4 separate regions of the Homo sapiens genome follow, and all the other regions are linked to region 1. Evidence: promoter capture Hi-C in human tissues and cell types (Jung and others, 2019). All regions are on one chromosome and are shown on one strand. The core of a region is centred on a gene start or on the middle of the fragment in contact, and the rest is flanking DNA. Distances in the headings are between cores, read along the strand shown.

Region 1 (5,743 bases), core at 1,265-3,764:
TGAGCCACCATGCCCAGCCCCCTTGGACAGTTTCTTTAACGAAAAGTGAAACAAAAACGTTCCTCCAGGTTCCTTGTAAACTCTGGATAATTCTGAGGTGAATGCAATAACCCAGTAAGAAACTTGTCCAGGATAATTATTTTAAGATCTTCTTTGATAAGTCTGGCTACAGAGTAAAGTTAACATTCTATTATGAAGCAAGGAATAAATCCATCCCTGTATCAATTAAAGGAAGAGAATATCAATGTGAAAGGGGGCATTAGAAACCACGCTTCAAAAGGATTCCCACAGTGACAGAACTTCTCAATGAAACACCACACCCCAAGTAACGGGGGCGGGGTGGTGCACCATAGAATCTGCCCCTAGGAGGCACAGCCACCTCCACACCGAGGGTTTCCAGTTTCCCATTCACATAAAAGAAACAAGTAAGAGATTCTGGGAGGCGCTGGGCTAGGAAGGCATCTACTCACTGTCTCCACCAACAATTCCCTCAGTAAAGCAGCCATTGCCCAATAATGCTTCTATTTATTTTACCCAGAAGCAGATCTATTAGCCAGACATTCTAAAAACACAAACGCTTCGTTGTGCTTGGAGTAACTCCAATATTGATGCCTTGCTGCAGAACGATGCTGCAGGAATATAAAGTGAGCCATGTGCTAGCTGTACCCACTTATGAAGCACACTGTCAGAAACTGTCACATCCTGGAGACCAACCCATCCGAAAGACTGAGAATAAACCCCCTACGAGAACACTGTGGAAGGAGGGAGAAAGCCAAAGATAGGATGAAGCAGGGCCCTCCTAAAGTCTCCGGAACAACGAAGCCAATTTTTAAGGCAACTCTCCCTAAAGCTTTCAGGACCAGAAAGATGTTTCTTTCTCCTCTCCTTGTTCAGACTGAATAAGAAAAGCAAGACAATGCTGGAGGATGTTCTGAAATGGGCTCCGCAAGTCACCACGTGCAAAGCACATTAAACAGAAGCCAGTGCTAGGCCAGGGTTTGGCTCTGAAGATGTTGCCTACTGGAAGGAGAGGGGCCCCCGGGGGTTTCCACGCAGAGACCAGGGCTGGGCGGTCAAACCTGGTAAACTGACAAGGAGAAGAGCCTTAACAACAATATAATGAAACGGCCAGAGGCCACCGGTACTCCCCAGGGCTGGGAGAGACAGGGAGGCCGAGGCTGCTAAACTGTTCCAGATGACAAGCAGGCTCTCCCACGTCTCCACGAACTGATCAGATACCAGGGCCTCGCTTCTTTGTGAGCCTCAGCTCCCTCCTTTCTGGGGAACCCTACTCGATCCCCAACAGCCGCTGGCCTCCAGCTGCCACAAACGAGATCCAGACTCATTACAGGGAATTCGTATTTCCCCCCCTCAAATAAAACACACACACACACACACACACACAGAGTCTCCGGGGTCCAGCCGGATCACACAGCTAAAGTTTCCGGAACTTGAATCGTAAAACCACAATCAGAAGTTGTTTGGAAATACTCGCCGCAAAGCAATCTGTCCTTTGCTTTAAAAAATAAAAAATAAAAAAAACTTTGCCCTGCATAAAGGCAGACAGTAAAGAGAGACACAAATCTAACTTGGGCAGAGGGTGTGTTCCTCTTTGTCACCCGCCGGGAACCCTCGCGCCGCGCGTGGGCGAGCGGCGGGCACCCGGCGGCATCCGCGCCAGCGGCCACCTCCCCGGCCCGCAACCGGCCTCAGGGGCCGAGATTGCGGCCCGAGGTCCGGAAGCGGCGTCCAGCGCTGTCAGCGGGCGGGTAGGACGGAAGGAAACGGGGGAAGGGCGCCGGGGTCGGGGGAGGCGAGCGGGGACCGGCGCGGAGCCCCGCAGCCCGACGTCGGCGGAGGTGAGGGGAGAGGGGCGCAGGGGGCAGCCCGGAGCCCCGAGGCCCCCGAGCTCCTGCGATGGTGGCCGGGGCTGCCCGGGCCCGACCCGCCGCCCGACTGCGCAGGGCAGGACCTCGGGGACCACGCGCCCACCTTCGCCCGCAGCCGCGGCCGTGCGCTGCGGGAGCCTGGACTCGCACAAGTTGCCGCCCGCGGCCCGGACCCCGCCGGCCCCCGCCCTCCCGCCGCGGTCATTGTTCACCGCGCGCCTCCTACCTCCACAGCGCCGGCGGCTGCGGCGGCTCCCTCTCCCGGCTCGGGCTCCGGGATCGGCGGCTCCCAAGCCCCCGGCGGCCGAGGGCGCGGCGGCGCCGGCTATTAATACCCGCGGGCGGCGGCGGCGCGGGCGCGCGAGCAGGGCTGGCGGTGGCCGGCTGAGGTCCGAGCCATCAAAGGTGGCGCGGGGCGGAGGGGAGGGCGGAGCAGGCGGGGTGGGTGGGGAGCGGGCTCCGGGTCGCCATGGCCGCCTCGACGCCGGGGCCAGCGCTACTCGCGCAGGGAGGAGCGGCGCAAAGCGGGCAGCGGCCGCGTCCCCGCCCCGCGCCCCAGCCGAGCGCCCGCACCGCTGCGCCCGCGCCGGACCCGCCGCCTCTGAGGCCGGCGAGCGGGAAGTGCAGTGGCCACCGCCCCTCCCCGGGTCTGGGCCGGCCCCTCGGCGGGGGGAGGCGGGCGCCGCGCAGCCCGAGCAGCGGGGACGCGGGAGAGCCACAGCCCCCTCCAGCGTCCGGGCCCGCGCCCTGCGCCCGCCCCGCCCCGCTCCGCTCCGCCCGGGCAGGTGCGCCCAGGGGCCTCCCGAGCCCAGCGCGCCGCCGGGGATCTGCGCCTCTCTTGGGCTTCCGGCCAGGGCCGGGCTCCGCGCGGCGCTACCTAATGCAGCGCGGGGAGCGCCACTGGCGAGACGCGAATCCAGCAGCTGTGGCGAAAAACGAACCGGGGAGAGCGGGAGACGTGTGCACGGCGAAGCCGGGAGCGGCAGGCGGGCGGTCAGGGGCTCGGACTCTGCAGGTCGCTTTTTGAGGTCCTGCCTGGGGCTGCTTCGCCTGCGACGTCGCGCGGGGAGGACAGTCTTCAGGGACCCACCGAGCCCTCCCCTCCCCCGGAGCCACAGGCACGGGCTTCCGGCACCACCCCGGGCTGCGCGGGACTTAAGCTTGGGGGAGCGGCGGCCACCCCGCGCCCGCCCACGTCCTGGCCCAGCGCCCTCCGCCCGAGCGAATCCCATGACAGTTCCCGCCCGCCCAGCCTCGGGGGACAGTGCCCTTGGGGAATGGCGTGGGGGAGGTTAGGAGTGGCTTGCGGTGCTTGAGAGCCTTCGGGGTTTCGGGAACTCTACGGAGCGGGGAGCAAGATTCAGGACCCAGGAGGCAGCGATCTAGGGGCACAGTCACCGTCCCCACCCAGCAGCTGCCGCGTTACCTTCTCTTCCCCCTTCTGAGCCTCCAGTCCCTCTCTCTAAGCGTGGCGGGAAGAGGCCTAGGGCGCAGCAAGTGACGTTCTGCCAGACCCGGGGCTAGCGGATTCCGGCCTTCGGAGGCCACTGGCTCAGAACCGTGGGCCTTTTGCGTCTTACAGGAGTTCCCTGACCTCAGACCGAGAGGGCAGATTTCACGGGAGAGGCCTCAAGTGAACTCACAGCTGGACAGGAGCTGGGCAGAAGTGGAGTGTAGGGACCCTGATAGAAGGGCGGGTTGAGACAAGAACAGGGGTCTTGGAAGTAGGGGGTGCTTGTGGGCAGCTCCTGGGGAGGAGCAGAGATGTAATACTTGCAGATTTGGTGGTCTGTGGTTGAAGAGAAGAAATGGTGGGTTTGAGGCTTTGCTCTGTCAGCCCAACCAGCTGTGTGTCACAGATCAGATTTTTTTCTGCTCGTGATTCTCTAAGTGTGGTTCTCAGACCACGACCACCACCAGCAGCCCCTGGAAACGTCAAGAAATGAACATTCTTGGGCCGCATCCCCGACCTACCTAATGAAACCTTAGCAAGCATCTGAATCGCCTGCAGGGATAAAGGACTGTCAGGCTCCATCCCCAGAGCTGCCGATTCAGTAGGTTTGGGGTGGGGCCTGAGAGTTTGCATTTCTAACAAATTCCCAGATAGTGATGTTGCTCTGGTCCTGGGATCACACTTGGAGGATCACAGTGTTAGGACAGTGGGTCTCAAACTCATGGAATCATCTGCGATTAAAAAACAACACCCTGGTTGCACCCCAGCCAAATATATAAAGATTCTAACCCAGGCATCAGTAAAGTTCCGCAGGTGATTCCAGTGTGTAGCCAGGTTTGAGAACAGTTGCTGTAGGCGGCTTTTTAAACTCTAGTGTATACCTGAATCACCAGGGAATCTTGTTGGAATGCAGATTCTGATTCAGTAAGTCTGAGACTGTTTCTAACAAGCTCTCAGGTGTTACTTGCTGGTCCAAGGACTACACGTAGTAGCAAAGTGCTATGTCATACCTCCCAACTAAAAGGAAAAAATTAGGCCGGGCGCGGTGGCTCACTCCTGTAATCCCAATACTTTGGGAGGCTGAGGCAGGTGGATCACCTGAGGTCAGGAACTTGTAAACCAGCCTGGCCAGCATGGGGAAACCTCGTCTCTACTGAAAATACAAAAATTAGCTGGGCGTGGTGGTGCGCGCCTGCAATCCCAGCTACTCGGGAGGCTGAGGCATGAGAATTGCTTGAACCCGGGAGGCAGAGGTTGCAGTGAGCCGAGATCGTGCCATTGCACTCCAGCCTGGGCAACAAAGTGAGACTCCATCTCAAAAAAAAAATCATAAAAATAATAAAAGCAAAAAATCATAGAAAGCGCAGAAAATTAGAAAAGTGACATTTTCCCAGTCACTCTCTTTGCAAGACCGACATTTTCTACATGTTACAGCATTTCTTTCATAGTCTTTGTATGTCTAGAATTAGATTTAGTTGTGATCTTAAAACTATTTATGATCATAACACATAATATATTGATCATATTAATCAATATGATAATACATAATATCCCATGTTGCCTTATCTCAACATTATCAACATTTGTGAAGGTGACTTTTAAAGGAGCCGTTCTGAGGTTTGCAGGCTGAGGGCAGGAGCCCATGGGGAGAGAGTTAATGGGGGAAAAGAGAGGGGAGAAGGGGCAGTTCTGGGAATCTAGTTAGAGAGGCTGTAAAGCGGTGGGGTCACACTAGAGAACTTCCTACGTTTCCTCCCAGCTCTCACCAACATTCCGCGGTTGGTACCTAACCTGATAGAAAGTACTGTTTCTTTTAAGAGAGGGTCTTGGCTGGGCGCTGTGGCTCAAGCCTGTAATCCCAGCACTTTGGGAGGCCAAGGCAGGCAGATCACGAGGTCAGGAGATCAAGACCATCCTGGCTAACACGGTGAAACCCCGTCTCTACTAAAAATACAAAAAATTAGCCAGGCATGGTGGCCGGCGCCTGTAGTCCTATCTACTTGGGAGGCTGAGGCAGGAGAATGGCGTGAACCCGGGAGGCAGAGCGTGCAGTGAGCCGAGACCACACCACTGCATTCCAACCCGGGCGACAGAGCGAGACTCCGTCTCAAGAAAGAAAAAAAAAGGAGTCTCGCTCTGTTGCCCAGGCTGGAGTGCAGTGGCACAAACATAGCTCACTGCAGCCTCGAACTCCTAGGCTCAAGTGATCCCCCTGCCTTGGCCTTCCAAAGTTCTGGGATTACAGGCATAAGGCCATCGTGCCTGGCCAGAAAGCACTTTTTAAATTCCTCTCCCTGAAAAGCCAGGGGTACCTGGCCTCGAAAATCCTGAACCTGGAAAATCAACTTCTGAAAAACTTAGGCGTTTCCTTGTCATTGTGTGTCATTTATGCTTAACTTTC
Region 2 (5,743 bases), core at 901-3,400, 130 kb before region 1:
TTCCATTACTGGGTATAAACCCAAAGGATTATAAATCATTCTATGATAAGGAAGCATGCACACGTACATTTATTGCAGCACTATTTACAATAGCAAAGATTTGGAAGCAACCCAAATCAGTGATATACTGATATACAGTCTATCAAATCAGTGATAGATTAGATAAAGAAAATGTGGCACATATACACCATAAATACTATGCAGCCTTAAAAGAGAATGAGTTCATGCCCTTTGCAGGGACATGGATGAAGCTGGAAACCATCATTCTCAGCAAACTAACACAGGAACAGAAAACCAAACACCACACGTTCTCACTCATAAGTGGGAGCTGAACAATGAGAACACATGGACCCAGGGAGGGGAATATCACATACTGGGGCCTGTCGAGGGGTGGGGAGAAAGGGCAGGGACAGCATTAGGACAAATACCTAATGCATGTGGGGCTTAAAACCTAGATGACGGGTTGATGGGTGCAGCAAACCACCATGGCACATGTATACCTATGTAACAAACCTGCACGTTCTACACATGTATCCCAGAACTTAAAGTAAAATTTAAAAATATATATATGTATACTTGTCAGTACTGTCAATGTAAGAGGAGATAAGACTCACCACCGTTAAGAGGAGCATTTAGCAAATGACGCCAAGTGGGTCCTTGGAAAAAAGTCGTCACCGTGTGCTGGTTTGTAGATGTGTTCTCTCTTCCAAACTCTAGATTTCATTAGGGCAGATTCTCGGCCTAATTTGTTGAGTTGTTTCTCAACAACTAGCGTAGTGTCTAAGCCAGAGCAGACTCTCAGGTGTTTATGAATGAAGGAAACAGTTCTTTCATTTCCTTGAATAATCCTAAGTAGGCTGCTTTCAGCTCTTCTGTCATCCTGACTTGGGAAATTATTGAGACATCAGCAAAATGTATAATCGTCTTCATGAAAAGAGAGCTCACACAACTGCAATTCGCCTCGTCTTACATCATGATTTCTGATTCAGAGGACAGCAATGTAAAACCGTGAAGAAACGATGGCTCAGAGGGTGGCATCTAGACTCGTACCCTGGCCTGCCCTCGGGGCCCCTGCTCTCTGCAGTATACCACACCATCTCTGTACACTGCCTTGCGTGAATGTTCCATTTAGAAGAGAAGAGAGAAAAGAAAAAAATTAAAAGATATACATGCTTAGTTTCCCAATTTCTAAGTTGTCCCAATTCTCAGGCTAAGAAATCTGTTCTCATGACATAAAGTTAGCCATGTGCAGGATGAGTTAACTGATCTAGATCATGAAAATATTCACCATCCTGCATTGCTCCTCAACAAGTTTCAGTCAGGCTATCATGAAGCTGGTATCTGCAAACTCATCGGTTTCCTGCACACAGAGGAACTCTCAAGGTGCCAGGAGCTACCTCATTTCTAGGAAGGGAGCTGCGTCCTCAGGATGAGCATTCAACAAAATGAATTCTCCCAAGGAAGATACGCTGAGGCATTGTAAGTCATGAATAGTTTAAAAACCAGGACCCTACAATGCCCATGTCCACATTTAAAACCAGATGTGCAATCTTACATGTTCATATAAAGAATTTAGAGCACCGAGAGCTCTTGGAAAATAAGCACAAAACCCTTTTGACGGATATACTACTTGTATATTACTGAGGATGTGTGAACAGCTCAATCTTCATTCAACTGTCATAGAGACCAAGGATGGACCTTGACCAAATGAGAAGGGATGGGCTTAACACATGTTCTTCTATGGTCAAATGTGCAAGAAAGCACCACTGGAAAATCACCTAAATTTACCCAAGAAAAACAATTTTCTTGGTATTCAAGATAAACATAAAGCCAATTTTATGTACTGCATTTCTCCTTCTATAAAATTACCTATTCTCAAAAGCCTTTCAGTTAGATTCAGTGATCTCAGCTCACTGCAACCTCCGCCTCTCAGGTTCAAGTGATTCTCTGGCCTCAGCCTCCCAAGTAGTTGGGACTACAGGCGTGCACTACCAAGCCCGGCTAATTTTGTATTTTTAGTAGAGACATGTTGCTCAGGCCCGTCTCAAACTCCTGAACTCAAAGTGATCCACCCACCTCGGCCTTCCAAAGTGCTGGAATTACAGGCGTGAGCCACTGGGCCCAGCCCATGGTAAGTCTTAAATAAATAACAACTGAATTTTATTCTTACCTGAACCAACATCTTCGCTGACACCCCCCGACCACTCACTCAGGCAATATAGTCCCAGTAGTTAAGAAAAATAGTAACAAATTAAATTTTCTCTTCCCCAACCCCTTCCTTGACAAACAACAAGGTCAAGAATGAGCAGTCACTGAAAGCTAAATATTATGTTGACCCAAGAGTGGGACAAGGTTCAGTGTTTCTGGGCCTGACAGGCCCCTCATGAGCCTCATGTCCTCATTTGCCAAAAGCAAATAGAAATATCTGCCCCATCAATTTCATAGGGCTGCTGTGGATGAGTCTGTTGAGATGCCAAATGGCTTAGAACACAGTACACGAATGTAAGCACTAGTAACTAGAATCATCTTGGCGGGGAGGGCCTCAAAATCTGAACTTAATGAACAGAAATGACCACTCAATTCAAGCTCATTTTCCTGCTAAAAGAATCCATGAAGATTTTGTTTATACTTAAGTTATCCACTTAACTACTTTTATCCTTTTTCACAGATAATGAAAGAGCATCAAAAAGCAGCTCATGACATTCACCTAGAAAGATCACCATTAGAACTGCAGGGAGATATATTTAGATGAGGTTGACTGACTGAGGGAAGGTAGGGTAGAAACAAGCATATCAAGGGTCAGGGCAGTTCATTTTACCATAATTTTAATATTAAAACAAAGCCAGTAAATTACCAATATTTATTAAATACTATAGCTGCACAATAAAGCCATCCACAGAGTCCCTTAACTCAGCTACCAGAAGGGAGAGGCTGGGCATGATGGCTCATGCCTGTAATCCCAGAACTTTGGGAGGCCAAGGCAGGAGTATCCCTTGAGCCCAGGAGTTCAAGACCAGCCTGGGGAATATGGCGAAACCTCGTTTCTACAAATAAAAATAAAAATAAAAAAATAAAAATAAATAAAAATTAGCCGAGCGTGGTGGCACATACCTGTAGTCTCAGCTACTTGGGAAGCTGTATACACACACACACACACACACACACACACACACACACACACAAAGAAGGGAAAGGCCAGATGCAGTAGCTCACACCTGTAATCCCAGCACTTTGGCAAGCCAAGGCAAGAGGATCACTTGAGGTCAGAAGTTCGAGACCATCCTGGCCAACATGATGAAACCCTGTCTCTACTAAAAATACAAAAATTAGCCGGGCGTGTTGGTGGGCGCCTGTAATCCCAGGTACTCAGGAGGCTGACGCAGGAGAATCATTTGAACCCAGGAGGTGGAGGTTGCAGTGAGCTGAGATCGCGCCACTGCACTCCAGCCTGGGTGACAGAGCGAGACTCCATCTCAAAAAATAAAAGAGAAGGGAGAAACAGAATCTTTAGTCAGCGTAGATGTGCTTTGGGGAGTGGGAAGAGGTTTCTGCTGGCCAGTATCTCTTCCTGCTGACCCAACCCCATGGCCTTATCTTCAGCTGAATCCTCCATACATGCAAACCTATTTATTCCAGGCAACGGCAACCTTTTTCTGCAAAGGGCCAGACAGCACAAATTTCAGCTTTGTGGTCCACTTGGTCTTGACTCTGCTGCTGTGGCACAAGAGCCCCCACAGGCAACCCCAAAACAAATGGGCAGGACTTTAGTCAATAAAATTTCATCTCTGGACACTGAAATGTGAATTTCATGTCATTTTCACATGTCCCCAAAATAGCCTTCTTTTTCCATCTTCAACCAGTTAAAAATGTAAATGGATACAGAGTTTCCGTTCTGCAGCGTGAAAAAGTTCTGGAGGTCGAACAATGTGCCTGTATGTAATGCTGCCCAACTGAGCCCTTGCAAATGGTGAAGATGATAAATTGTATGTTATGTGTACTCTACCACAATTTTAGAAGATTTTTTTAAGTATCCGTGTCTGGCCTTGAAGCTGTAGCTTTGCTGCCCCTGAGGGAGCCCCACCTTCCAATTTCATTTTGAAACAGGATATGAGGTGTACTGCAGGTTAACCAAAAGTGAGTAGACAGCAGTCAGACATCACTGGACAAGGCCCAGGATCAGAGGCCCCAGGAACCCAGCACGTCCTGCAGTCCTCGGTGGGAAGGCAAAGGCCTGAGGTCCGCGGCTGCGCCTGCAGGGTGAGGGGACATACACTGTCTGGATTCCCGTCGTGTTTCTGTTGACCTTGCCTGAAGGCTTCTGAACTGTGAGGCACATCCCTTCAGCTTGTGTGGACCTACGGGGCTGGAACATTTTCCAATAAGGATATAGAAACTGGATTTGAGAAGGATCCACGGGCCTCATCAGCAGCCCTCCATAGGCCGAGAGTCCAACCTTGGGAAGGATATGGGGGGGTGGGAGCGTCTGCAACCCCCAACCACAGCAGCAGACCAGCAGAAAAGTCAAGAACAGGTTTGAGCAAAACAGTCTGGACAGGCTACAGAAAGCATTTACAACACCACCGAAGGGAAAATGGGCTCGGCCGACACAACCGGCCCTTTCCACATCCAGCCAATAACCAGACAGAGGTGCAGAGGCCAAGTTTACTCAAAGCAGTGAAAGCAGTTACTGTGAAGCAGGAAGACACGCCCCAAAGACAACTGCAGTCAGTCTGCACCATGCTGCCACGGTATCAAAGGGTTAAGTCAGAGTGTGAGTGTATCTTTAAGAAAAACATAGTGGTGGCCCTTGTCCAGATTTAGCCTGTGGCTGAAACCGTTTAGGTAAAAATATTTTTTCTTACTGTGCTATTCATTTAACACCTAGGTGAAATAATAACCCCTTTCTCTGCACTTGTATACCACCCCTTTTTTTTTTTTTTTTTTTTTGAGATGGGAGTCTTGACCATCACCCAGGCTGGAGTACAGTGGTGTGACCTTGGCTCACTGCAACCTCCACCTCCCAGGTTCAAGAGATTTTCCTGCCTCAGCCTCCTGAGTAGCTGGGATTACAGACGTGCACCACCGCACCCGGCTAATTTTTTGTATTTTTAGTAGAGATGGGGTCTCACTTATGTTGGCCAGGCTGGTCTCGAACTCCTGACCTCAAGCGATCCACCCACCTCTGCCTCCCAAAATGCTGGGATTATAGGTGCGAGCCACCACGCCCGGCCTCATGCCATCCGTGTAGAATTTTCAATGTGTGTCTTATTGATAATTAAAGAACATCTTGGGGTTGTTTTTTCCTCTTTAATCTAAATGTAATACATGGAAATTTTAGGAACTGGTTTGAAATCTGCCAAAAGTAGTTTTTCCAAAGAGTAGTTCAGACCAACCCAGAACTCTTGCTTCTTGGCAGAGCAAGTAAGTAAGCTAGTTCTGGGTTAATGTTCACACCAGGGTGATCAGGCCTGATAGGAGTTTGCTGTGGACGCTGAGCTGGGCCCAGGGACTTCACCTCCTACTTCCTCCAAAGGACAAGGTCACTATTGTGAATCCTGCTTTACAGAGCAGGACAGAGGCCCAGAGAGCAAACCTGCCCAAGACCACACAGCTAGTATGTGGCCGAACTGGGACTGAAGCCCAGATCTTTGACACCAAAATGAATGTGTGTCCCTCTGTCTCGCGGCTTTTCAGATGGATCACACAGGAATGGGATGAAATAATGTACAAATCGCTGCCAATG
Region 3 (5,743 bases), core at 1,108-3,607, 110 kb before region 1:
ATTTCAGGTCCTGGGAAGGCACAGGCAACTAAGTGGGTGGGTATTAAAGACAAAGGTCTTCAATAAATGTTTAAAGAACACAGTACAGAGATACCTGGCATTTTGGAGGGCACATTCTACAGCAGCCTGTGAGAGGAAATCTCAGCATTTGGTAGCATCCATGAGGGTCAAGCCAGACCATCTGCCACCAGGGCACTCCTGTCCATTAGCTGGGCCATTGTTGGCTTGTCTTTGAGGTACAAGTCAAAGTAATGTGAAAAAGTCATCTTCACTCTGTGTTGGGGTCGGTTTTAATTTTAATAAATGAAAATATGCAGGTAATGAACGTTCTATTGAACCTACCCAAGAACATGAATGTGAACCTGACAAGAGCCACGCTGAAGTCTTAAAGTTATTGAGTCACATCACATGCACTGATATTCTTTTAGTCTTATGAGTCTCACATTGAATAGTCAGGAAGTCTGAACAGTCAAAATGCAAATGGGCATTTTGAAAAATTCATCTGATAATAAAGTCATTATAACTCTAATCTCCTAATATGCTAATATAATACATATTATTAACATTGTTGTTAAATACATATATAGGTGGGCACGGTGGCTCACGCCTGTAATCCCAGCACTTTGGGAGGCCGAAGAGGGCAGATCACTTGAAGTCAGGAGTTTGAGACCAGGTTGGCCAACATAGTGAAACCCTGTCTCTACTAAAAATACAAAAAATAACCGGGCATGGTGGCAGGATCCTGCAATCCCAGCTCTTCAGGAGGCTGACGCAGGAGAATCGCTTGGACCCAGGAGGCGGAGACTGCATTGAGCCAAGATTGCGTCACTGCACACCCTGGGCAACAGAGTGAATGAGACACCATCTCAAAATACACACATACATACATACATACAATTAGCTATATTACTATCCAATCTGCTATCTTTTTATGGTTTATCATGGACTTTATCAAATTGCGTGATGCCAACAGGTGATGCTGGAGGGCTTTGGTAGTTGTTTGTCCTCCCTCTTCCCTAATGGGGACTTTTTTTTCTTTTTTTTTTTTTTGAGATGGAGTCTCACTCTGTCACTCAGGCTGGAGTGCAATGGCGTGATCTCAGCTTACTGCAACCTCCACCTCCCGGGTTCAAGCCATTCTCCTGCCTCAGCCTCCCAAGTAGCTGGGATTACAGGTGTGCGCCACCATGCCCAGCTAATTTTTGTATTTTTAGTAGAGGTGGGGTTTCACCATGTTGGCCAGGCTGGCCTCAAATTCCTGACCTCAAGTGATCCACCCGCCTCAGCCTCCCAAAGTGCTGGGATTACAGGCGTAAGAATACCATGCCCGGCCCCCAGTGGGGACTTTCTATTAAGCAAATAAAGTCGTCTATATCTCTTGCATAAAACCATCCTGAGAGTGCACAGGGCCTAGAATCCTAGACAAGGAGGCAGAAGATATGAACTGTGGCCCCGCCTTAGCCACCGTCTAACTGAATGAACTTGGACAAAGCACCTGTTTGAGCCTCACTTCTTTCTTTGAGAAATGGGCATCCAGGTCTTCCAGTTCTAACAGCTGTCCACTTAACTTCATGGTTCAACAATAAGATTTAATATTCTTTATGATTCAAATGTACACACATGTATGTGCCTTATTCATATATTAGAAATCGTCATTTTTCTAAGAATAAACATATTTATGTATTCACAAGTTCATAAACATCTATGAAGTCCCTGCTATGTGCCAAGCACTGTGCTCGAGCCTAGGACAGATCAAAGACCAGGGGCCACACAATCCCTCTCCTTACAGCTAAGTGGGGAAGACAGGCACTGAACCAGTAATTTACAAACCAAATCATGCAGTGGTTTAGAATTACACACATGTGTTAAACTATAAAAAGAGGCAGATGAGTGACCAACACAGAATTTAGGCTGGGATTACTTCTTAAGGGATGGGGGTTAAAAGTCTTCAGAGAGTGGCCCATACTGGTAGTGTTATATATTTTTTTCTTTTTCCTTTTCTTTTTTTTTTTGAGACAGAGTCTTGCTCTGTCGCCCAGGCTAGAGTGCAGTGGTGTGATCTCGGCTCACTGCAACCTCTGCCTCTCGGGTTCAAGCGATTCTCCTGCCTCAGCCTCCCAAGTAGCTGGGATTACAGGCACCTGCCACCATGCCCAGCTAATTTTTGTATTTTTAGCAGAGATGGGGTTTCACCATGTTAGCCACGCTGGTCTCAAACTCTTGACCTCGTGATCCACCCGCCTCGGCCTCCCAAAGTGCTGGGATTATAAGTGTGAGCCACCGTGCCCGGCCCTCATATTTTTATTTGTTAAACTATACTTACACTTTTTATAGCCTCTTTTGTAAATATGCCATATTTCACAATTTAAAGTTTTGACAGATTATGTGAGAAAGAAACAAATCATGTACAAACCCAAAAGACTGGCATTATTGTACCTTTCTTTAGAACCTAAACCATTCAAAACACATATGGTTTCAGATTTTAACATCATTATTTTGTGACTTGAGATGGCATTTTAAAGAATGACAGACTCAGTTTTGCAGGTTTTTAAATCCCACATTTCTTTTCAAAGTGTCTGTGTTTCTCCGATTAAGTCACTGGGCCACCCCAATGTTTGGTGTTCAGAAATCATTGGTGAATCTCACGAGTAAATTTAAAGCGATGTATTTTCTCATACATATAAAATCATCTATTTTCTCTTTTATTAAATGCCTATCCTTTCCAAGGCTTAAAAGATTGAAAACTTAAAAATTAGGTTTTCAAAACAGGTCAACAATCTAAACCCTGATGAATTTTGAAGATTTCCAAAAGAAATTTGGGGAAGGAGCTGTCAAACATCGCATATGTAACTGAAGGGAGAGAGGTGGGGAACCAGACTGTTCATTTGCCCCTGGAATTTCATGTTGTCAATACCACCACGGGGAACCATCACTAAGAAACGGTATGGCCTCAGGTTTCCGTCTGTCTTTTTTCTTCTATAATGCTCAAAGACAGGTGTAAACACAAGGCCTGTGTGATATTTCTTTGGGAGATGTACATCTTGTTACCTTCCTGCCTCCCCGAGACATAGGCCTGAGTGACATTAATCATTCCAATAGCCAAACAATTTCTGTGTCATCAATGGGCCATTAGCTGGGTGAAGAACATGGTGGGGAAACACAAGACTTCTGCCAAAATATCTCTGTTGCCACAAGGAAAAAGTAAAACAGTAAGCAGACCAGAAGTTCTTTTTAATGATGTATTCCTCAAGCAAAAATCAGACCTCTTCCCTCAATAATGGGCTGTAACACTCTTGCAAAAAAGCGTCTATCTTACAAGAGTTTAAGTTCTTACCATGTCACATAAAAGAAGTATCGTATCATTAAAAATTTTATGTTCCCAAAAAAGTTCACCAAGTACATTAACAAGGAGCTATACTTGCAATATTTCCAAAGGCAAAGTTGTAACAGTAAAATAATTCAATTAAAGCATCACAAAAGATACCTGAAAATTCCTATTCGTCTAAATGAGCACCCATGGGTGCTCACTTAGTTGAAATACAGTCGATTCTCATTATTTGCTGTAGTTGCACTCTACATGGTCACCACTGAACTAGGGAACACTGAACTGTTGCGTCTAGGAGAAATACAAGATTAGATTCTGAGATCTTCTGTCATATTCTCATCAACTGAACAATATAAATTTGTTTAATGTGTGTTTCTGTTAAAAGACACTTTACTTAATATACACTGTTGACTCATTAATGTTGAATTAATGGCCAGTAAGTAGCACTAGAACTTATGCCTAAATGAAGCTTCCCTAACACCCGTTTTCTCTGTAAGGCACATTCTCAGCCTTCTTGCGCTCAGGAACCCTGGACAGTGCTTCTAGCACTACACTTCAGAGCCATTTTAAACAGTGAAATCACCAACAAAAAGCACGAAAACGCAAACAAATCACGGCACTAACTAGATCATCAAAAAGGCACCTGTTTCCAGCGCGAGAGCTGAGACAAGAAGGCAGACCCTCATTTGAGTTCAGCTGAGAATGTGCACATTGGGCAACTCACATTTTTCTGTAATCCTGGGCAGGTCCACAAATGACCAGGAAAGCACCACAAGCTTGATTTGGGGACTACAAATTTTAGGGAGTAGGTGGATTCACAAATACGGAATCCATGAAGAATGTGTTATCCAGTGTGGTAAGGACTCAGCATATCCTAGATTTAACATTAATATCCAAAAGTATTTCTGAAGCTTCTCATGATTTCTTAAAACATGAGACATTTTGTTTCCTGACACTATCCCATCCTATAAAAGGATACTGTATTATGTCTATGGCCACAGGAAAATACCTTGGGGAAGCCCTCTACCCGGGGAGAAACAGCTCACATCACTGCTAGGAGGTATCTCCTTACCCCTCCCTCTACCCTCAGTGTCCCTGAGTCCACTATTAAATCTCATTCCACCCAAATACAGTAGAAAAGAGTTCAAAAATCACAGAATATTTCAGAGAGAACTGGTTCACTATTTTTCTAGGTACTGCAAAATCTATCCTTTACTCATGCCAGATATTAGACAGAGGTGTCATTGGCCCATTTCTCTCATTAGAGTTGCTGTTTGCTGGGCTGGACGGGATTGCACCCATTGGCCTGTTTGGGAAGACAGGTCCGAGGTACCCGCCTCTCTGATGCTGAGAGAGGCTGCGAAGGTTTTTGTTCATAAAATTTGTTTCCTTCTTGGACCCTTGGCAGAGATGTGTTTCTGGTCTTAGTGTCAGGAATCTGCGACTCTTCTGAGAACTGGTTTATTCTTATCATACGACTGCTGATCAAGTGTCCAGCATTCAATACACAGCTCTTCACAAGGATCGCTGGAAGCTGATGACCACATCCGTGGCTTGGTGGCATTCACTTTGTGAAGAGGCCTCCTTCTGGATGCTGCGGACATCTTGCCCCTGTTCTCTGTTTCTGTTTGCCTGGACTTTCTTATCGGCTCCCAATCCGCATCATCTACACTCTGGCTCCTCGTGAACTGCCTGGAATCCGTTGAAGGTGGAAGCTGGGGTCAACCTACCAACCTTTGCTCACCTTCCTAACTTTCTCTGGGAAAGGTTCCTCCCCTGCCCTGGATCCCAGCAGAGCCCTGAGCTCACTGTCTGTTGTATCCTTCTCCGTCTTCCCTCCTCCCATGTTAGTTCAAATAGCTCTCTCTGTTTCACACCACCTGTCCTCCCAGTGAGCTCCACTCCCCCAGCAGGGCTGCGGGGATGGATAGCCCAGCCAGTCATACTGGGGTGTCTGTCTGCGTTAGTGACCCGGCCTGGTCATTTAGAGCTTAGTGTGACTTTCTTAAAGGGCAGTTAAAGAACTCTATGTGGGGGCCAAAGTGGGCCCAGCCAGGGGTGTGGAAGGCTGCACACCACCAACAGAGTACACACCCTGGGCGTGACACTATTGGTAGATGGCACGCATCGTCTTCTAGGTGTAGAAAGGAACAGCTACTTTTTTTTTGGAGACAGAGTCTCACCGCCACCCAGTCTGGAGTGCAGTGGTGCGATCTCAGCTCACTGCAACCTCCGCCTCCTGGGTTCCAGTGATTCTTCTGCCTCAGCCTCCCGAATAGCTGGGATTACAGGCATGCGGGTTACAGGCATGCGCCATCACGCCCAGTTAACTTTTGTATTTTTAGTAGAGACGTGGTTTCACCATGTTGGCCAGGCTGGGTCTTGAACCCCTGACCTCAGGTGATCCGTCCACCTTGG
Region 4 (5,743 bases), core at 1,778-4,277, 80 kb before region 1:
CAGCTAGAAGTCACAGCAGCAGTCAACAGCACAGCCATTTTTCAAACGGTTTGTTAAAATAAAACAATGGGAGTTGTTATACAGTTGTGTTAAACTACATCTCCCCTCCTCCACAAAAAAAAAAAAAGATGAAGTCCTAATCCCTGGTACCTGTGAGTATGAACTTATTTGGAAATCAGGTCTTTGAAAATGATCAAGTTGCAATGAAGTCAGTAGGGCGGGCCCTAATCTAATATGACCATGTCCTTACGAAAGGGGAAAATACAGAAACACTTGCGCAGCAAGAAAATCACGTGAAGATGACCGCAGAGACAGAGGCAATGTATCTATAAACCAAGGAATGCCACAGATTACCAGCAAACCTCCAGGAGCCAGGAGAGAAGCACAGGACCAGCTTTTCCTCACAACCCTTGGAAGGAACCAACCCTGAAGACACCTTGATCTCAGACAGCTGGTCTCCAGAGCTGAGACCATACACTGAGATTCTTCAAGCCACCCAGTTTGTGGTACTTTGTTATAGCAGTGCTAGCGAACTCGTACTCCATAATTCAACAAATGTCAACTTAAGTCATTAAGGAATGGATTAGCCTGGAAAAACGGACAACTAAAGTGCTCCCCCAATGCTATGGCAGAGACGGTGCCAGCAGGGACTTCCAACCATCACTGACCTCCCCAAGAGTGCATGTGGGTAAAAGGGATGTACAAAAACGCCCTTGTTTTCAGTCAGTACCTTGTGTGCCACTAAACAATAACCAGAGACAAAACCAACTCTCCAGGCCCCTGGATCCAGCATTTTAGGAGCCAGACAAGAGGGCAAAAATAAGTTTGGAAGCTAAGCAAGGCAACTTGTACCTACCCACATAAAGACTCTAACAGCCCGGTTGGCAGGACGCCGGAGGGCTGTTGGCAGTGTCTTGGTTTCTGCTGAACCAGTTTTCTGGAGAAAATCAGAACTTTATTTTTCTAAGATGGCCACGGGCCTTTCAGGAGCTTCAAAAGAGACACAAGGCAGGGGAGGGTCCTGACGGGAAAGTCTGCCTTAGAGAAATGGTCCTTAAAATGGAAAGGAAGGGAAACGAAGAAGAAACACTCTTGGTTTCATGAGGGAGTGCAGAGTCCACAGTTAGCAAACACTCGTACTGTTGTACTTGGAGCGAGAGTTCTCCTCGTGTGATGGGAATAATGGGTGAGATCGTAATAAACCCCAGGGCATGATCAGAGGAATGGTGCGAGTCCAAGCAGCTCAGTCCTGTGGGCGACACACAGGAGGTCTGATCATCGTGGAGAAATCTACTTGGGTGCAATGAGCTGTGAAATGCAACTGAAATCAAGTCAATAAAAGGAAAAGAGTTGTTCTCGGCACTGGATCACGAAACCAGACGTCCCGTTTAACAGCTCTAATAAAATATGTCATCTTCGTCCTTACAAAAATGATCAGGCTAAGAGATAAGATGGTTAATAGTAACATCTGAGGTTTTTTCAGCTCTTATATTCAACTTATGCTGTGACTACTACACAAAGCAGTCTCTTTCTTCATCATTTGAATTCTACTGCTAAGACCGTCTAGAAATTCAGAGCATGTCTGTGAATCCCAGGACTGAAGTGTGAATGAAAGGTATTCTTATTGATGCCTGCCATGTGAAGCCATGTCCTGTAGGTGAAGGGATGAAGGATCAGTCGGGAGGTAAAAAGGATCCCGTGGCCAGAGAATGCAGGAATGGAAGCCAAGGCAGAGGAAGAGAGCCTGAGGTTAGCGAGGCAGGGGTGGAAGCAGCCCACGCCTCACAGCCTTCATGTTCTCTGTGAGGCAGAAGTCATGGTCGCCTCCAACCACAGAGGGTGCCCTGGCTCTTCTCTCACTGCCTGCCTGCAGGCCCAGCTCCACAAACTGCTCACCTCAGCTCTCTTACTCTGGGGCTTCTGGTTGGGGTCAGCAAATGGGAGTCCCTGGCAAGGGATGGGTAGTCAAGAAGATAGGGACTCAGCTCTGTTTCACCTGCCCCTCCAGCACTGTAAGATAGTAACTACCTATTGTTTTGTGTTTTCTTTTTTTTTTTCTTTTTTTTTTTTTTTTTTTGAGACAGAGTCTCACTCTGTCGCCCAGGCTGGAGTGCAGTGGCACGATCTTGGCTCACTGCAAGCTCCGCCTCTGGGGTTCACGCCATTCTCCTGCCTCAGCCTCCCGAGTAGCTGGGACTACAGGCACTCGCCACCACGCCCAGCTAATTTTTTGTATTTTTAGTAGAGACGGGGTTTCACCATGTTAGCCAGGATGGTCTTGATCTCCTGACCTCGTGATCCACCTGCCTCGGCCTCCCAAAGTGCTGGGATTACAGGCATGAGCCACCACGCCTGGCCGTAACTGCCTATTTTTTAAGCCACGGGTTTGTAGTACTTTGTTATGGCTGCCCTGGGAAAGTAATTCAGCTTTCAAACATGAAAAAAGGTATTGTTGTGATAACCTAACAACTCCACAAATGCCCTCTGGTCTTGCTCTGCAATGCTTTACACACTCAGTCTTATGCCTAGATCAAAGGAAATGGAGCACCTGAGTTCTGTTTGCTGGCAGAAATACTCACTGACAAATGGCCACTGGAAGATGGGATAATAGCCAATTGCATTTTATAGTTCATGTCACAGGCAAATTACATCAAAACTAAACAATGAGCTGAAGAAAGCAACTGACCTGCTCCTTTCTAATGCTTTTGAACAGAGTCCTTTGAAAACACTGGATCTAAATGCTTTTCCAGCTTGGTGGGCACCCAGGTGTGGCAAGCTTAACAGAGTAGCTTCTGGGGAGATGAGGAAATTGGAATGCAAGAAGTAAAAATAACTTTCCTAACATAAATTGAAACCAAGCAATCAACTTCCATTTGTTACTTCCAGTTTGTACCATTTACATAATCACTAAGAATCCTGGAAGTTAATTTCCAGAGCCACAGATTCTTTGTGATAAAAAACAAAGCAATGTCTTCTATGGCCAGGCGCTGTGGCTCACACCTGTAATTCCAGGACTTTGGGAGGCCGAGGCGGGTGGATCACCTGAGATCAGGAGTTCGAGACCAGCCTGGACAATATGGTGAAACTCCATCTCTCCTAAAAAATACAAAAATTAGCCGGGCATGGTGGCGGGTGCCCGTAGTCCCAGCTGTCGGGGGACTGAGGCAAGAGAATCACTTGAACCCCGGAGGCGGAGGTTGCAGTGAGCCAATATCGTGCCACTGCACTCCAGCCTGGTGACAGAGCAAGACTCTGTCTCAAACAAACAAACAAACAAAAAGAAATGCCTTCTTTTGGCAACACTACCAATGTTCCTTTCATGTCAACTGAAGGAAGACATTATTTCAAGTAAAACATTTGTCACAGAGTTGACTTCTCAGCCCTTGGTGACAGCACTGAGCCATCCAGGCTGTAAAACTGATGACTGCAGGTGCTCTCCCACTCCTGGGGGGCTCCCTGCTTCTGTCCCATCAGCTGCCACGCCCTGTCAGGTCTACGTCCTGGGTTTCTCCTGTATCTGTCAGTCCCCTGACATTGCTTCTGCAGGGCCCTGGCCCTTATCAGTAACTACCATGTGGAGATGATATTGCCAAAACCCTGGTCACTGGGCTTTCCTTCTGCAGACTCCGCCCTCTTCAACCCATCCTGCCCACTTAAGAGCACCTTCCGGCCAGGCACGGTGGCTCATGTCTGTAATCTCAGCACTTTAGGAGGCCAAGGCAGCCGGGTTGCGAGGTCAAGAGACCAAGACCATCCTGGCCAACATGGTGAAACCCCATGTCTACTTAAAAAAAAAAAAAAAAAAAAAATTAGCTGGGCATGGTGGTGCACGCCTGCAGTCCTAGTCCTACCTACTGGGGAGGCTGAGGCAGGAGAATCACTTGAACCCGGGAGGCGGAGGTTGCAGTGAGCGGAGATCATTCCACTGCACTCCAGCCTAGCAACAGAGCAAGACTCCGTCTCAAAAAACAAAAAAAAAAAGCACCCTCCACTGGCACCTGTCACAGGCACTAGCACAGCCAACATGTTGTATTATCCTAACGGCTCTTTATGGCCCCAGACCATTAACAAAGTGAGTGACACACAGGCTTAGGTGTATGTGGTCCTGGGCTGGGACTCCAGCTCCTTCTCTCCAGCACTCTGACCCGCGCCAAGTCACTTATGCCCTGTGAGACTAATCGGTGTTATTCTCACCTGCCTCACAGGTTCACTTAGCAACAAATGAGATAATGTACGGGCAGACTTGGCACAATGTCTGGCACACAGCAAGGGATTTTTCAGAGGGTAGTTATTGTTTTTATTCATTTTCTTATCACCAGTAGCACCTTGCCTTCCATGTTGATACACATTTGTGAAACCCGTATCATGTTTCCAAGACCACATTCCATAAAATAAAACCAGAGCCACAGAATTCCACTGTGGGTATCTGGTCCAACTTCCTGTTTGTATAAATGAGGAAACAGAGACCTATGAGGCTCTCCTTCAAAGTTACAAAGTGCTAACAGCTTTGAGAACTGCTCTTTTACATGATCATTCTATCTACAGAAGAGAAATCCCAAACTAAGTCATTCTGTGTCTGTCTTATGAGTTAAAATCATTACCTCCAGCTCAAATGCTCAAAGTGATAGAAGACAGCAAATAATTGAACATTCAAACATGGCAGATAGTTTTTTAAAATCAGTCCATTTAATATGTGCAATGTTTTTATATTTACATTCTAACACAAGAGCATCCAGCTGACTGAGCACTTCCTTCAAATGAACCCACAGAGCCCATATTGAGAAGACCTACCCTAGAGGATCTTGAAATCCTATGTCTACCTTAAAACCATTCATCCAGTCCATGGTAGAGGGACACATGATTCACCCAGGAACATCCTGACTCTAGGAAAATGGAAAAGTTTTGAAGCTAAGAAAATAGAGGAGATCAAGAAATCAGGAAAGCAAAAATGCACGTAAAATTTCTGAGCGCAAAGTGCAACCCCCTCAATTTTCAAGTTGATTAAACTGAAGCTCACAGAAGCTGCACGTAAGTCCACAAAAACGCAGTAAACGAGCTTGGCAGAAATGGAGGTTTCACGGCAATTGTCCAAGTGGTGCTTGGTTCTTATAGACCTTCCAAAAGGCCCCTTGGGACACAGCTTTGGCTTAGGTAATGATTCCCCTCCAAAGAAAGCCCCAGTTTGATGTGAGACTACACAGGCAGCTGTGGTCTAAGAGGAATGACTCCATCTGACAGAAGCACATGATTTTTTATTCTTAAGTGCTTTCATTCGCTTTCTTTTCTCCCATTGATCCAGCCAACAGCTCTACATTGAAAGCAGAGCCTCAATTCCGTGAAAGAACAAGAAGGAAACTAAAGTTCAGGGTGAAAGGAAGGAAGACAACCTACTTTCATGAGAACCAAATCTGTGTTCTCTGCAAGGTGTTTTTGCAGAAGATCTCATTAGAGCCTCACCTGGGCCTCAAGTGGTCGGTATTCTCCATGTGTAGAGATGAGAATGGGCAGCCACTCATGCAGCGCCACATAGGTAGGAAGCGAGGCGGCCCAGACCCAGGGCCTGCACTTCCCCTTTAACCCCTCCGTTTCTTATCATTGAGAATATTGTTTCCACTTAAAAGAGAAAAAAAGCAGCTTTTCAAACTTCCTCCATTTTCTCAGATCATGGCCCATTTTAAAGTCAGATTCAGACATTCTCAATTAGTTTATTCTTTTAATTAGGTTATACTGGTTTTTTTTTTCA

What was found. Contacts are between HindIII fragments. The study calls those that stand out against the background at their distance.
Region 2: a contact is called between a fragment that was not itself captured here and the fragment with the promoter of FARP1 in region 1, in 6 of the 25 tissues and cell types used here (IMR-90 fibroblasts, dorsolateral prefrontal cortex, mesenchymal stem cells and 3 more).
Region 3: a fragment that was not itself captured here is called in contact with the fragment with the promoter of FARP1 in region 1 in 5 of the 25 tissues and cell types used here (IMR-90 fibroblasts, hippocampus, liver and 2 more).
Region 4: a contact is called between a fragment that was not itself captured here and the fragment with the promoter of FARP1 in region 1, in 3 of the 25 tissues and cell types used here (dorsolateral prefrontal cortex, mesenchymal stem cells and thymus).

What each region holds. Positions count from the first base shown.
Region 1 is chr13:98,139,865-98,145,607 of GRCh38, reverse strand. It overlaps FARP1 (FERM, ARH/RhoGEF and pleckstrin domain protein 1), which reads right to left and starts at 2,514. Exons shown (of 27, transcript NM_005766.4): 1 at 2,116-2,514. LOC105370328 (a long non-coding RNA gene) reads left to right here and starts at 1,698. Exons shown (of 3, transcript XR_931670.4): 1 at 1,698-1,769. RefSeq lists silencers at 2,464-2,773, 3,014-3,063. The HindIII fragment of the contact is 5,274 bases long and covers 239-5,512 here.
Region 2 is chr13:98,266,218-98,271,960 of GRCh38, reverse strand. All of the region lies in intron 2 of FARP1 (FERM, ARH/RhoGEF and pleckstrin domain protein 1), which reads right to left. Among named protein-coding and RNA genes, the nearest start is that of MIR3170, 61 kb to the right of the region's middle. The HindIII fragment of the contact is 9,127 bases long and covers 1-5,743 here.
Region 3 is chr13:98,246,990-98,252,732 of GRCh38, reverse strand. All of the region lies in intron 2 of FARP1 (FERM, ARH/RhoGEF and pleckstrin domain protein 1), which reads right to left. Among named protein-coding and RNA genes, the nearest start is that of MIR3170, 41 kb to the right of the region's middle. The HindIII fragment of the contact is 3,624 bases long and covers 546-4,169 here.
Region 4 is chr13:98,220,861-98,226,603 of GRCh38, reverse strand. All of the region lies in intron 2 of FARP1 (FERM, ARH/RhoGEF and pleckstrin domain protein 1), which reads right to left. Among named protein-coding and RNA genes, the nearest start is that of MIR3170, 15 kb to the right of the region's middle. The HindIII fragment of the contact is 6,407 bases long and covers 1-5,743 here.